Regions from separate parts of the Homo sapiens genome. Here regions 1 and 3 are each linked to region 2. The links are contacts of gene promoters, found by promoter capture Hi-C in blood cells and fetal thymus (Javierre and others, 2016). All regions are on one chromosome and are shown on one strand. The core of a region is centred on a gene start or on the middle of the fragment in contact, and the rest is flanking DNA. Distances in the headings are between cores, read along the strand shown. Region 1 has its middle 390 kb from the start of DELEC1. Region 2 holds the start of TNFSF8 (TNF superfamily member 8). Region 3 overlaps WHRN (whirlin).

Region 1 (4,643 bases), core at 1,290-3,789, 600 kb after region 2:
AGATGCTCTTTCTCCAGTGGTATGCTGGTAAATGTTTACCAACCAAGTCAGGGTGGTGGTGGGCAGGGACCAATCTATGGTATTTGCTGATTTCTCTGTTTAAAAAATACTCTCATCATGATCTATTTTATTGAATGTGGAGTTGGAAAGTAACGGGCTCTCGTGTGCTGGCAGCACATGACTGCTCCTAAATTTTACAGTGACAGCTTACAAATATTTATTGAGTATCAACATATTCCAGACTGATGTGAACAAGAACTCAAGTGTCTGGGCCAACTCCAGCTCCCTTCTGCTTTCTGGCTCTGGACAATAGAATCTGAGATGTCATTCTGCTACAACCTCACCAATTGGCCATTTTAGCCTCTGATTCTGCCCTTTTCCTATGACTCTGACTTCATGATATGAGAATATTTAGTATCAAGGTGAGGTGGCAAGACATTCATAGAGACTTAAATGAGTCACTGTCTGCCTATAGTAATGCCCCTTAGTATGGGAAAGAGATGCCCCTCTCATGGTGTGGTACCAATCAGCATCAGGATCTCTGCAATATGCTTATGCCAGTGGACTCTATGCTTCATGAAGGCAGAATATCTATCTTTTTATATACAGTTGCATTTCTAGAGCATAGAAAGATGGACTGATCCACTGTAGGTACATAATAAATAATTGTTGATGGCCAGGATATTAGAATTTCACTGTTTATATAAATTGCTTATTATTCTATGATTTTGGAAAGGACATTTAAAACCTCTGGAAGTCAGTTTCTCTATCATTGAAATGAAGAAAATACTAGCTACTATGAAAGTTTTTATAGGATTAAAATACTGTACATCAAGTTCTAGGTACATAGTAGAAAATAAACAAAGAAAATTATTCTTTTCCTTCTCCTCCTTCTCCTCCTCCTCCTCTTTCTCTTCCTCCTCCTTCTCCTTCTCTTCCTCTTCTTCCTCCTTCTCCTCTTCTTCTTTCCCACTACTTTTTGTTTTTATTATTATTGTCACTATTATTATTACTATTATTATTTAATTATTTTTTATTTTCAAGAATGCCATAATATAAACCAGGCTTATGAGACAGGTAGATTCTGATCACAACACCTTATATATATTTGGCAGACATATTTACATCATGCATCTCAGCCAATACTCATAACTTCCCTCTCTTAAATAGGTATCAGGTAGTTCATTTTATAGGTGAAGAATGAGGTCTGCACAATTAGTACCTCCTGGGATTTTTGCACAAACAAAAAGCTTCTCTGCTTGGATAACTCTTCTGTGGTGTGCTTTAAAGCTAAGCTTGTTTGTTCTACTATATTCAAAGGCTACTTCCTCTACCTGAGGCAGAGTTTGCTGTTTCTCTCTTTGTGCTCCTGTTGCATGGGATAACTTTATCTACCATTGTAGCTTTTACTTGTCATTTATTGTTCCTTTTATTAAAAGCCTATTTCTTGACAACCTCCTGGCTGTCAGAAATTTTGCTCAGGCTTTAGGAATGTAGTGAGTAGCAAAACAGATAAAACTTTCTGACCCAACAGAGCAAAGATGTCATGAGACATAGACGTTAATCAAATAGCCATAAATACACTCTATATGAAATAAACAGGCAGCTGGAATTGAGAGAGCGAAAGGTAGCTTGAGATTAGACTGAGTTTTTTAAGCAAGGGCAACATTATCCATAATTGTCCTACTAAGGATTTCAGGTTTTTATCCTAAGAATAATAGGAATCTTCAAAATAGTTTAAACAGAAGAGTGACTTGATCAGAATTTAATTTTAAAATACTACTGTCTTTCTTTTATAGAGAATACAGCTATTTTCCACACTACTTAAAGACACAGACCATGTTCAGTATTCCTGTAGCATCTAGCAAAATAGTTGGCATATAGTTGGCACCTAGGATTGTTGTTAAAATAGTAAATGAAATACAGCAATAGCTGAGATTTATATATATTTATAAATTATGTAATAATTTTTATTTATAAATCATGTAATAATTTTTATTATACTTTAAGTTTTAGGGTACATGTACACATTGTGCAGGTTAGTTACATATGTATACATGTGCCATGTTGGTGCGCTGCACCCACTAACTCGTCATCTAGCATTAGGTATATCTCCCAATGCTATCCTCCCCCCTCCCCCCACCCCACAACAGTCCCCAGAGTGTGATATTCCCCTTCCTGTGTCCATGGATCTCATTGTTCAATTCCCACCTATGAGTGAGAATATGCGGTGTTTGGTTTTTTGTTCTTGCGATAGTTTACTGAGAATGATGATTTCCAATTTCATCCATGTCCCTACAAAGGACATGAACTCATCATTTTTTATGGCTGCATAGTATTCCATGGTGTATATGTGCCACATTTTCTTAATCCAGTCTATCATTGTTGGACATTTGGGTTGGTTCCAAGTCTTTGCTATTGTGAATAATGCCACAATAAACATACGTGTGCATGTGTCTTTATAGCAGCATGATTTATAGTCCTTTGGGTATAGACCCAGTAATGGGATGGCTGGGTCAAATGGTATTTCTAGTTCTAGATCCCTGAGGAATCGCCACACTGACTTCCACAATGGTTGAACTAGTTTACAGTCCCACCAACAGTGTAAAAGTGTTCCTATTTCTCCACATCCTCTCCAGCACCTGTTGTTTCCTGACTTTTTAATGATTGCCATTCTAACTGGTGTGAGATGGTATCTCATTGTGGTTTTGATTTGCATTTCTCTGATGGCCAGTGATGATGAACATTTTTTCATGTGTTTTTTGGCTGCATAAATGTCTTCTTTTGAGAAGTGTGTGTTCATGTCCTTCGCCCACTTTTTGATGGAACCAAAAAAGAGCCCGCATCACCAAGTCAATCCTAAGCCAAAAGAACAAAGCTGGAGGCATCACACTACCTGACTTCAAACTATACCACAAGGCTACAGTAACCAAAACAGCATGGTACTGGTACCAAAACAGAGATATAGAACAATGGAACAGAACAGAGCCTTCAGAAATAACGCCGCATATCTACAACTATCTGATCTTTGACAAACCTGAGAAAAACAAGCAATGGGGAAAGGATTCCCTATTTAATAAATGGTGCTGGGAAAACTGGCTAGCCATATGGAGAAAGCTGAAACTGGATCCCTTCCTTACACCTTATACAAAAATCAATTCAAGATGGATTAAAGACTTAAACGTTAGACCTTAAACCATAAAAACCCTAGAAGAAAACCTAGGCATTACCATTCAGGACATAGGCATGGGCAAGGACTTCATGTCCAAAACACCAAAAGCAATGGCAAAAAGACAAAATTGACAAATGGGATCTAATTAAACTAAAGAGCTTCTGCACAGCAAAAGAAACTACCATCAGAGTGAACAGGCAACCTACAAAATGGGAGAAAATTTTCGCAACCTACTCATCTGACAAAGGGCTAATATCCAGAATCTACAATGAACTCAGACAAATTTACAAGTAATAATTTTTATATATAAATTATGTAATCATTTATATATAAATCATGTAATCATTTTTATATATAAATTATGTAATAATTTATCATCTTGTCAGTGATCTACTCAAGTAGCCACTGTTATGCCAGTTGAGAGTTGAGAAGACTAAAATCCTGAAGGATGGTGTTAATTGGTAGAGTTGGCAGGTGGTGAAGCCAGAATTCAAACTTGGCCTATGAGATTCCATCGTGGCTGCATTCTTTCCACAGAAGTATGCCCTGACCCATGCTACGTTTTGTGGCCTCTTATGGAGTCTGTGCAACAAGGTAGATTCTGAGAGAATAAAAGCTTTTGCCAATTACCCCTTCTCCCCCAGTTTCTTAGGCATTGGAGATCATTCTCATCTAATACCTCTATGACATCAGAAACATCCTAACTGTTCAGTCATCTCTCCATCTTCCTGTTGCATCACCTTCAAGCTCCAGTTGATACAGTAGGCCCCCTGTATAGCTGTGTAACTTGGGATAAGTTTCAAGATTCCCAGTAGATGCCTGAAAACACAGATAGTACTGAACCCTATATACACTGTATTTTTTTCATATGCATACATACCCATGATAGAGTTTAAATTATAAATTAAGCACGGTAAAATTTTTACAATAACTAATACTGAAGTAAAACAATTATAAAAAATACCGTCCCCTATTTCATGGATAGAAGATTTGCTCTCACCCTAGATCTTAGCAATGTCAGCATACCATTTTTATTTTCTCATTAGGTAGAGAACTTTCACCTTTTCACTTAAAGAAAGCACTTTTGTGTGGCTTCTCTCTGGTATATCTGAATTGCCAGCATCACTACTCTTGCCCTTTGGGATTATTATTAAGTAAAATAAGGGTTACTTGAACATAAGCACTGTGATACTGCAATAGTCCATCTGATAACCAAGATGGCTGCTAAGTGACTAACAGGTGGGTAGTATAGATGGCATGGAGACACTGGACAAAGGGACAATTCATGTGTCAGGCTGGGTGGAGCAGGACTATGTCAGATTTCTTCACATTACAGAGGATGGCATAAAATTTAAAGCATATGAATTGTCAATTTCTGGAATTTTTCATTTGATATTATGAGACCACGGATGACCATGGGTAACTGAAATCATGGATAAGGTGGTAAGGGGAATACTGTACTCTTCTTCCC
Region 2 (4,792 bases), core at 198-2,697:
CTGTAAACACCAATTTTCTAAAATATGAAGAAGCTTCCTCTTTCTCCTCCTCTTCTGTTTTCAGAAACAAATCTTACCATTTACTTCAAAGTAAATCTCCGAAGACAGTCTGACCCTGTACAGTGTGTACCCAACGATTGCTTAGTATTGTGAGGAACATCAGAGAGAACAGGTGCTAAAAACCTTTCAACTTTCTGCTTCTATGTGCTGTTTCTTTTTTTTTTTTTTTTGTGACGCCCTAACTTCTTCAAAGTTGTGGCTTAAGAGGAAGCTTTCGATTTGTCTTGCTGGCTTTAACACCAAAATGTCCAAAGCTCTAAGAAGCCATGGTCTTCTCTTTCGCCTCCTTTCCTTCTAGACCTTGGCCTCTGAAACTTAGCTCCTTGTATAAAACAAAAGCAAAAACAAAACTCTTGGCAATGGGTGAGGCCTCAGAAACCTCCAGGACACTCAGACTTAGGATATAGAACCTCAGAATCCAGTCTGAAGTCCTTGAAGACATGATAACAACTTGTGCAAATGTGTTATCAGGTTTCTCTATTGCTTCCTTCCTTGATATGGGTCTCTGGCTCATTAAGATTTAAATCTTAACTTTAAAAGGCCAATAGCTCCCCTCCACTGTTTTGCTCAGACAGATCTGCAAAGTTTTAAGATGATGGTCTAACAATATTTTTCTCAACAAGCCAAATTATTTTAGAGAGTTAAGTTCCTCTTTCTTTTCTCCCTTTCTCATATATATATATATATATAATATATACTGTATAATATAATATATATTATGTAACATAAGTGTATTACGTTATACAGTATATACTATAGTATATATATATATATAGAGAGAGAGAGTTTATTTATTTAATTTTATTTTGTGCTCTTAACCAACAAACGAATATCATTTGTTCCCAGGGCTCTTTCTCTCGGGAAAACAACAAGAAAAGGAAAGGGAGGAAGAGGAGTCCACTTACCGTCCTCTGAACGACCAACACCATAATAGTGGCCACCGTGAAGACAAGGCACAGAGCCAGAGTGGCTGTGGTCAAATAGAAATAGCTGCGGCTCGTGGTCCCCAGGTGGCTGGCCACGGAGCCCGCCGGCACATGCATGGCTGTGTCTCCAGGAGGGGCCATTCCGTTGAGTGCTTGCTGCAGCCCTGGGTCCATTCTTTATATAGTCTTCCCCACATCACACCTTATCTCTCTTCATCTGATTCAGTTCTGGGCCCATCTCTGTTCCAAGAAGGATTCTCCCCCTGAATCCTGAATCATGTGACTTGGAAAAAAACCTTCACCTGCTGCCTGGTGGAGAAACTCTTCTCTGGGGGCGTGAGGCGAGAGGCGGCAGCAAGGGTGGGGGAGAGGTTCATTTTTCATTGCCAGGGATTAAGTTGTGTGCAGAGAAACTAGCTACAGAGAAGGTGGCTGATGTCAGAGGGCGCGTAGGAAAATGACGGTTCCCCGACTGTGTGTGTGTATGTGTGTGTGTGTGTGTGTGTGTGTGCATGCGTGCGCACACACAAAGCAACTTCTGTTTCGTTTAGACTCTGCCACAAAACGCCTTCCTGTTCAAGAAGCTGCACCTTCTTTCAGCGAGGCCTGTGGCTCAGAAGACCTCCCCAGATAATGAGTCCTTGCTGGGTCTCAGGGAGGCCGGATCCCTCGGACTGCAGTGTAATAACTCCAAAGGGTTCGGTTTGATAGGCTACTGCTGAAAAAGGGACATGCTGCAGGTTCCCTGGGGGAAAAAGGGCACACAAATGGAGATATTTCTCCAAAGGGGGACTGGCTCATGGCAGTATGAAATTTGGGGTTCAAAGATACTGTCAGAAAGCAGGAATCTGGAAATATCAATCTTTTGAACAAACACTCCTGCAGAAGTTTTGGGATCTGTTAAACTGGCAGATGAACCTGGACCTGCCGTAAAACTCATGAAGAGGGGAAGGAATTGGCAGTGAGATGGTGTGGTGTGGAATATGGGGGCTGTGTGTGTTCTGCGTGGTGTACTATGTAGTGTGTGTGTATTTGTGGTATGGGGGTATGTGTAGGTGTTGTGTGTTCTCTATGGTATATGTATGCAGTGTGTGTGTGGTGTGCATTTGTGATCTGCAATGCATGCCGAGTGTGGTGCGTATGTAAGTGTTGTGTGTGGTGTGTATGTATGTGTTGTGTGTGGTGTGTTGTGTCTTGTGTATGTATGTGTTGTGTGTGTATGTGACTACTATAATTGAACCTCTACTGTCTCAGGCACAGCGCTAGGAGTTACATGTGGCTTCATTCCACTTCCACCTCCACCCTCCGAGGCAGGCAATGTTTATTTTTTACAGATGGGAAAACTGAGGCTCAGGGAGGATGAAAACTATCTCAACCTAAGTCGCAAGTGTCGATCACTGAAAGAACTTGGGTGCACTTTGCAGCCTGCCTGGCTGAAAGCTCGTGCTAAGTCATTCAATCTTCACTGCACCTGAAAGCTAAAACCTGAAGTGTGGTCTCAGCCCTTTCCCTTCTTAGCCTTGGGCCATCATACAAGTCTTTATGGCTTTCTCTGTTCCCAATCTGCATTACAGTCATCAGGAAGACCAAGCGAGATGATGTCAGAGTACTCCATGAATAAAAATAGATTTGGGGATGGTGTTGGACAATTCCTGTTAAACATCCCAAGCTGTCTACTGGGCTAAGTCTGGAATTTAGATACAATAGACAGATTACCTGGGGGACAGAGTCAGATCACATCTGTGGTTACTAATGATCTCCATTTCAAAATACCGTTTAAAATGTTAATCACTGCATAGCTGCTGCCTCCAGATGTGGGCCTTTGAAAGCTCCATTTGGTATCACCGTGGAAGAAGCTCATTCTGCATAGCACCTCCTTTCCTTTCTGCTCACTTTTTGTCTGCAGCGCATCACTTTGAGCCAGCAGAGATCCCAGATGCCCCTAAGGAAACGTCCTGTGTCTAAAGCCAAGCTTGGATTATTACCACTGCTGTTCTTGCATAGAACCAAAACTTCTGAGCATCTCCCAAATTAGATCAGGCTTTAGGATTTGGTCTGGATATTTCCTCCCAGTGAGTCTGTAAAAGCATAGATCCTGGAGACGAAAGAGACATCAAGAGATAAATTGTTTTCTTGGGCTAAATAGAGTGGGGGGCGATATACCCATTTTACAATCAAGGAAACCGAGGCCCCCGTGATCCCAATTGAGTTTGGTTTTGAAAACAGTGTGTTCACGTTCGTTTGGTCCGGTAATTAAGGTGGGAACGAGGCAAGCCAGTGTTTTCTGGGGCATGTACCTGGCTGATTTGGGGAGAAGGCTGTGTCCTCTGGTGGGCACGGACAGTGAGTGGGTAGCAAGGGCTCTGTGGTCTGCCCAGAGTTGCTGAGAACCAGCTGCTCCCTTGGCCCTCTTGTTCAGCCTCTTTGATCAAAGTGGAAAACTTCTGATTGTTGAATGGAAGCTGTGGGTGTTGAAAAATAAAAAGGCTTTGCTTGAAGTTCGGGTCTTCCTGAAGGCCTGTGGGGCTGAGAAGGGCAGTGGAAAAAAATGTTTGTCTTACAGTTACCCGTTTTGCATACAATACAATGTCCTGGGAGGGAAGGCTGACAAGGGGGAAAAATCACCCTTTGTTTTTACTCAACTTTCTGAGCAGTTGAGATTTTCGGATCAGTTCCTAGTACAGTAGTTTGTGGGCTCAATTCATTCTTTTGCTGTGACACTCCTCTACTCACAAACCTTCAGTGGCTCCCTATTTCCCACCCCCATTGCTCTAAGCCCCTCTCTGCTTTCCAGCTGTTCTAGAATCTAGCCTGGCCAACATAGAAATCCATGACCTGTGCTAACTGGCTTCTTTCTGTCTTCTACTCAAGCTGTACGATGTGCAGATGGAAGGAGCCTTTATAGAATTTCTTGTTGAGTAAGTTTTAAATCCTTTCTGGAAGCAAAGCTGTATAAGGAATATAAAAACATAAGAAAACAGGGCTGCTTTGGCTGAAGCACAGGTGGGACAAAGAGAAGGGCTAAGCTTCACCTGCTCATTTGCCCTTTTCTGGCATGGGGTCTCTCCAAGGTGAATAAAATTTAGAAACTTCAGAAAATTTGGCTTGAATCCTTCATTCCACAAAAGGAGGAAACTGGGACACAGAAATGGGAACAACTAAAGGAAGTACATACCATCAGGGAGAGAGACAGGTGTAAGAGTCCCTTCTGCTCATTCTCTCTCCTTTTTTTTTTTTTTTTTTTTTTTTGACTGAGTCTCGCCCTGTCACCCAGGTTGGAGTGTAATGGCGCAATCTCGGCTCACTGCAACCTCTGCCTCCTAGGTTCAAGTGATTCTCCTGCCTCAGCCTCCTGAGTTGCTGGGATTACAGGCACACACCCCTAGGCCTGGCTATTTTTTTTTTTTTTTAATCTTTTGTAGAGATAGGGTTTCACCATGTTGGCCAGGCTGGTCTTGAACTCCTGACCTCGTAATCTGCCTGTCTCGGCCTCCCAAAGTGCTGGGATTACAGGCATGAGCTACCGCACCCAACCCCCTCTGCTTGCCCGGCCCTCTCTGCTCATTCTCATGTCGGCTCTGCTAATATTCCAGGTGCATCCAGGCTTCCTCTCGTGTTTTACTTGGCTTTCCACTGCTCCTGTTCTTCCTCTCCCTTCCAGCCTTTGCCAACCCGCCTCACCATCTCCAGGAATGCTTGCCCAGATCTCTCAAGTCCACCAACACCCTCTCTGGAATGCCTCTATTTTCATGCCACATAACCTAATTGTCTAATTATCTACTTCTCTTGATGTGGAACCCAAGTGT
Region 3 (4,761 bases), core at 960-3,459, 520 kb before region 2:
CCATGTGGTTCATGTGAGCCCTGACATACCTCACTTCATCGAAATTCACTTTACCCATTAAAATGAAGGTCAATTTGCCTGCTGGTCACTTTGAAGTTAAGTTTTCTTTGGGACTTTCTGATCATTTTCAGGCATCCCCTGAACTGCCAGAGATGCTGGGGCATCTCTAGCCTGGGCTGGGAATTCCTGGGTTTGGCCACGAGCGCTGTGCTCCACAGTCATGCCTCCAAAAGCCAAGGCCTCTCTCCACCACTTGCTGATGAATCCCAGGAAGGTGTGAAAATGGCAAGAGAGAAGTGGATGGGGAAAGTCTCTCCCTTTTTAAAATTCTAATGGTTTTAATCCCAAGGTGGTGGTTTAAGGTTTAAATGGACCTTATTTTGCAAAAAACGTCTATTTCTTTCTTCCCTTCCCAATTCACAAGAAGAAACCCAATGCCTCCTTAAGTGACACTGGGCTGCCAAAAGGCCATTTGTGGGCCGTCTATGGGGGGCCCATCGGAGCTCCTCTCTGAGCTGGGCTCTCTTGAGGGCTAAGGGAGCCAGTTCTCTCGGCCCTAGAGCCCAGAATGGAAAAGAGCTTCCACCACTGTGATGATTAGCTTCGCGTGTCAACTTGACTGGGCTAAGGGATGCTGAGATAGCTGGTAAAACATTATTTCTGGGTGTGTCTGTGAGGGTGTTTCCAGGAGAGATCAGCATATGAATGGGTGGACTGGGCAAAACTCACCCTCCCCAATGTGGGTGGGCCTCATCCAATCCACTAAGGGCCTGAACAGAACAGAAAGGCAGAGGAAGGGCAAATTTGCGCGCTCTTCTAGAGCTGAGACATCCATCTCCTCCTCCCTCAGACACCGGAGCTCATGGTTATTGGGCCTTTGGACTTGGACTAAAACAAAACCACCAGCTTCCCTGGGCCTCCGACTTGCAGATGGCAGATCAGGGGACTTCTCAACCTCCATCATTGCGTGGGCCAATCCCACACAATATAGTATAACTGATTGCTTCTCTTTCTCTGGAGAACCCTGCTGGCTACATCAACACTTGGCTGAGGTCTCAACTGCAGTGCTCATCAGTACTGAGCAGTCTCTGAAGCTCCAGGCTGATAAGGGGCTGGGGACACAGAGGTGGGACACCAACCCTGCCATTGGTAGCTCAGAGACAATGGGGTCAGTCGACAAGCAAACAAGCAACAGGGAGACTGCAGAGAGAGCATCCAATGGGCAAACACAGGCATATAATGCAATCGGGGGAGGGGTTACCACGGAAGGCTTCCTGGAGGACGGGGCACAACTCAAAGCTAGGTCTTATGAGTGAGCAGAGCAAAGAAGGGAACGATAGGTGTTTCAGACAGAGGAAAGGGTGTAAAGCAGGAATGGAGATAGGATGTTTGAGAACCCCCGAGCAGCTCCACAGAAGTCAAGCATGGAGCTCTTGCACTTAAGCCTGAGGGCAGTGGGTTGCCATGGAGATGTGGTCAAGTTTGCCTTCTACGAAGATCCCCTTTGCTCACATCCTCTCCAGCCAGGCTGGAACACCACGGATGTGTCAGCCTTCACACTGGCTGTTGTCTCTGTCTGCGACTCTTCTGCTTGGCTATCCATCCACAAGGCATGCTGTCGCTCACCTCCAAAACCTAACCCACCTGTCACCTGCTCGACAAGGTGTACCCTCACCACCTCAGCTAAAATCGTAACCTTCCCCTCACCCCACTCCACCTTGCTTTATTTTTCTCCTTCTCATTGATCACCATCTCCACCCAGCAGCTAGGGAGTCATGCCAGAAACACATGTCAGGTCTCTCTGCAGCTCAGGACCCCCAAGGGCCTCTTCATCTCAGTTGGAGGAAGTTCCAAACCCTACTCATTGTGCCTACATGACCGGGCCCTTTCCTGCTACTCCAACATCACGAGCTCATTACTGCCCCAGGGCCTTTGCACCTGCCGCTCTCACTCTGCACCACACTGTGGTTCATTCCTTCACTTTGTTTAGTTCAGACCTCAGCGAGGCCCTCCCAGAGAAGCCCTGTCTAAAACAGTACTGCCCCACCCCCATCCCTGTCTATCCCGTTCCTGCTTTGGTTTTCTGTGTAACACCTATCACCATCTGACTTTATACTCTTTGCATACTGTCTGTCTCTCTCAATAGGATATAAACTCTGAGAAGGCAGGACATGCAACTACTCGGTCCTCACTCTCTCCTCACTTTTCAGAACAGTGGCTGCTGGATAAATGTTTATGAAGCAAACTGATGAATCCATGAATGAATGGCAGGATGGATGAATGAATGAATCAATCACTCTAGCCATCATTGGAGGAGGCCAGAGCAGGCAGGGAGTTGAGGGGGGTGGTGCTGCAGGTCACTGCAGTGAGCAGTAATGAATGTCTGAGTGTGAAGGCAGCAGGTGGGGACAGAAGGCACTCCTGACGCCATACCCCTAAGACAGAGAGAGGCCAGTCATGCCACACATATCCCCATCTCGACCCACAAGATGCTGGCTCGGGCCTTCCGGGTCAGAGCCCTGCAAACCCAGAGCTCCTCATCTGGTCCCATGATGCTTCAGGGGCATAGTCAGGCAGGGGCAACTGCCCCCATTTCCCCACAAAGTTGAGGTTTACATGCAAACCTTGGTCCTGACCTGTTAACTGCACACTGCCTCACAGGAATCTGCTGCTGACAGCCCCTGTGATGCAAGCGCGGTATGTGGTGGTTGGGGGGATTCTTTCAAAAGGGCGAGGGTGATTGGGCTGCTCTCTCACTCACTGATTAGTGACACTGGTTCTGGCTCTGCCAACTCTGAGGCTTCTTTGAGCTCACACCCAGTTCTGCCGCTTGCAGCTGAGTGATGGTAGGTAAATCCTTCCTCTGTAAAATAGGTTAACAGCAATACCTGCCTTAGGCAGTGGACATGTTAACACTTACAAAGCACTCAGAATAGGGCCTGGCACAATGTACGAGGAAGGTGACTGTTACGTGCATTGGGAGACTGGGAGGCCTTGCAATCTGCCCCAGCAAGAGAATGAACCGCGAGACGTGTCCTGGCCCATATGACAACTAGGATGGAAAGGAATGGCAGCCCTCTCACACCACCTCCCTCCTCCAAGACCATAATGAGTCCAATGCTCCCTGGAAGTAGTCCAGCCAGGCGCGTTAAGGTGAACAGTGAGGCAGTGATTGACATGCATTCACTTCCTCAGGCTCAACATTCATAGTCCTGGTGTCAGCAGGAGGCACAGAGAGGGGTCAGAGCCTCAGAGGTATCTACAGCAAAGACAAGGGGAGCCTCTGCCACATTCAGGTGGAGCCACTGCCCCCTGCCCCAGGAATTCAACCTGCAGCTGATCCTGGGGGAAGCTGGGGTTGGACTCAGATGACAGTACATGGTAGGACCAATGCCGTGGGATCCTGCCCTGCTCTGGCGCATCAGGGGCTTTGCACATTCAGCTGTGCAGGAAGCTCTTATCAGGCAGCCATGACTTTCCAGGGAAGCTCAGGGAGGGTGTGACTTTTTCCCAGAAAGGGTATTAGAGAACTACAAAGGACCTACTGTGCGCCAGGCCCCGTGCTGGGTGTTTTACTTATATTATCTCATTTGATCCTCCCAATGACCCTGTGAGGCAGGCACTAGGACTGTCCCTTGTCACATCGATTACACCTGAAGTTCAGAGAGGGAAGAGACTTGTCCAAGGTCATCTGACCGTTCTACAGAAGGTAAGGTTTCTAACCCAGGTCTGGGTCACCCCAACGCCCATACTACACTGTCCCAACCCCAGAAATGAACAGGGCCTTGATGTCATAGGAACCTGAGGCCCCCATGAGCAACCCTCTTGGAAATGAGAGAGAAGGCAGCCATAGCTGGCCCTGTCCTCAGCCTCATTCCCTGCTACTAACTGCATCCTGGGGACATGGCAGGTGGAGGTGGAGGGTTGGGAGGGTGAGGGGTAGACGAGGGATGAATATCCAGCCCTGTCAGGGAGGCCTGAAGTGGAGCAAATGGCAGACGGGTCGGAGCCCAGCCCTCTGAGCCCAGCCCTGCCAGACTCCATCTGCTGAATCCAGACGCTCAGGAGTCCCAAGTCCCCGAGCCATGTTCCTTATGCATCTGAAATAGCTGCAGACAGCCGGCTAAGAACCCGGGGGATGCATCAGCAGAAATGCCTGCGGAACAGGCTTCCAGAGGAGGCTCAAGGTCAGAGCTCATGCAGGAGCTGGGCCTGTTCACTTTCACCACCACCCACACACAATCACAGCCACCTGGGCCCCCTCCCCCTGTACCCACTGAGGCCAGAGCCTCAGTGAGGGCATAGACCTGGCGGCTCCATTAATCCTGCCAGATGGGACCCTTCACCCACTCTACAGCTGAGGTGACTGAAGATCAGAGCGGGAAGGTCATCTGTCCAAGGTCACACAGCAAGGACAGGGCAGAAAGCTGAACTCTATTCAAGGCCCGACTCCATATCCCCGACAAAAACCTGCTTCCCATAAGAGCCAAGATGACCTGCTGTCATTGTTCTTCCACCTCCTTCCTCAAACCTGTGGCAGTTCAGCAAATTCCCTTTTTTTCAGAGAAAAGAACCCCTTATTTCCTGAGTTGGCCCAATCAGGGCCCAGGTATCACAGAAGTGTGGTCTTGGGGAACTGTAAGGGGATGAAATGAAGAGGGGCAACCTTTGCGGGGTGGACTCAGGGGCAGGTAAGGCTCCCCTGCATGATGTCAAAGCCTGAGGCTGCCTGGGCACTGCGGGGCCACCTCAGCAAAATGC

Evidence for each region. Contacts are between HindIII fragments. The CHiCAGO score rates a contact against its expected background, and 5 or more counts as called.
Region 1: a contact is called between a fragment that was not itself captured here and the fragment with the promoter of TNFSF8 in region 2, in 2 of 17 cell types (M1 macrophages and M0 macrophages). The highest score is 9.2, in M1 macrophages.
Region 3: a contact is called between a fragment that was not itself captured here and the fragment with the promoter of TNFSF8 in region 2, in 14 of 17 cell types (non-activated CD4 T cells, neutrophils, naive CD4 T cells and 11 more). The highest score is 13.7, in non-activated CD4 T cells.

Annotation. Positions count from the first base shown.
Region 1 is chr9:115,525,396-115,530,038 of GRCh38, forward strand. No RefSeq gene overlaps it. Among named protein-coding and RNA genes, the nearest start is that of DELEC1, 390 kb to the left of the region's middle. The HindIII fragment of the contact is 2,493 bases long and covers 1,294-3,786 here.
Region 2 is chr9:114,929,144-114,933,935 of GRCh38, forward strand. TNFSF8 (TNF superfamily member 8) reads right to left here and starts at 1,448. Exons shown (of 4, transcript NM_001244.4): 1 at 966-1,448. The coding sequence starts at 1,160. RefSeq lists an enhancer at 542-1,101. The HindIII fragment of the contact is 2,687 bases long and covers 270-2,956 here.
Region 3 is chr9:114,408,119-114,412,879 of GRCh38, forward strand. The region is part of intron 7 of WHRN (whirlin); the gene reads right to left. Among named protein-coding and RNA genes, the nearest start is that of AKNA, 23 kb to the left of the region's middle. RefSeq lists a silencer at 1,470-1,519. The HindIII fragment of the contact is 6,945 bases long and covers 1-4,761 here.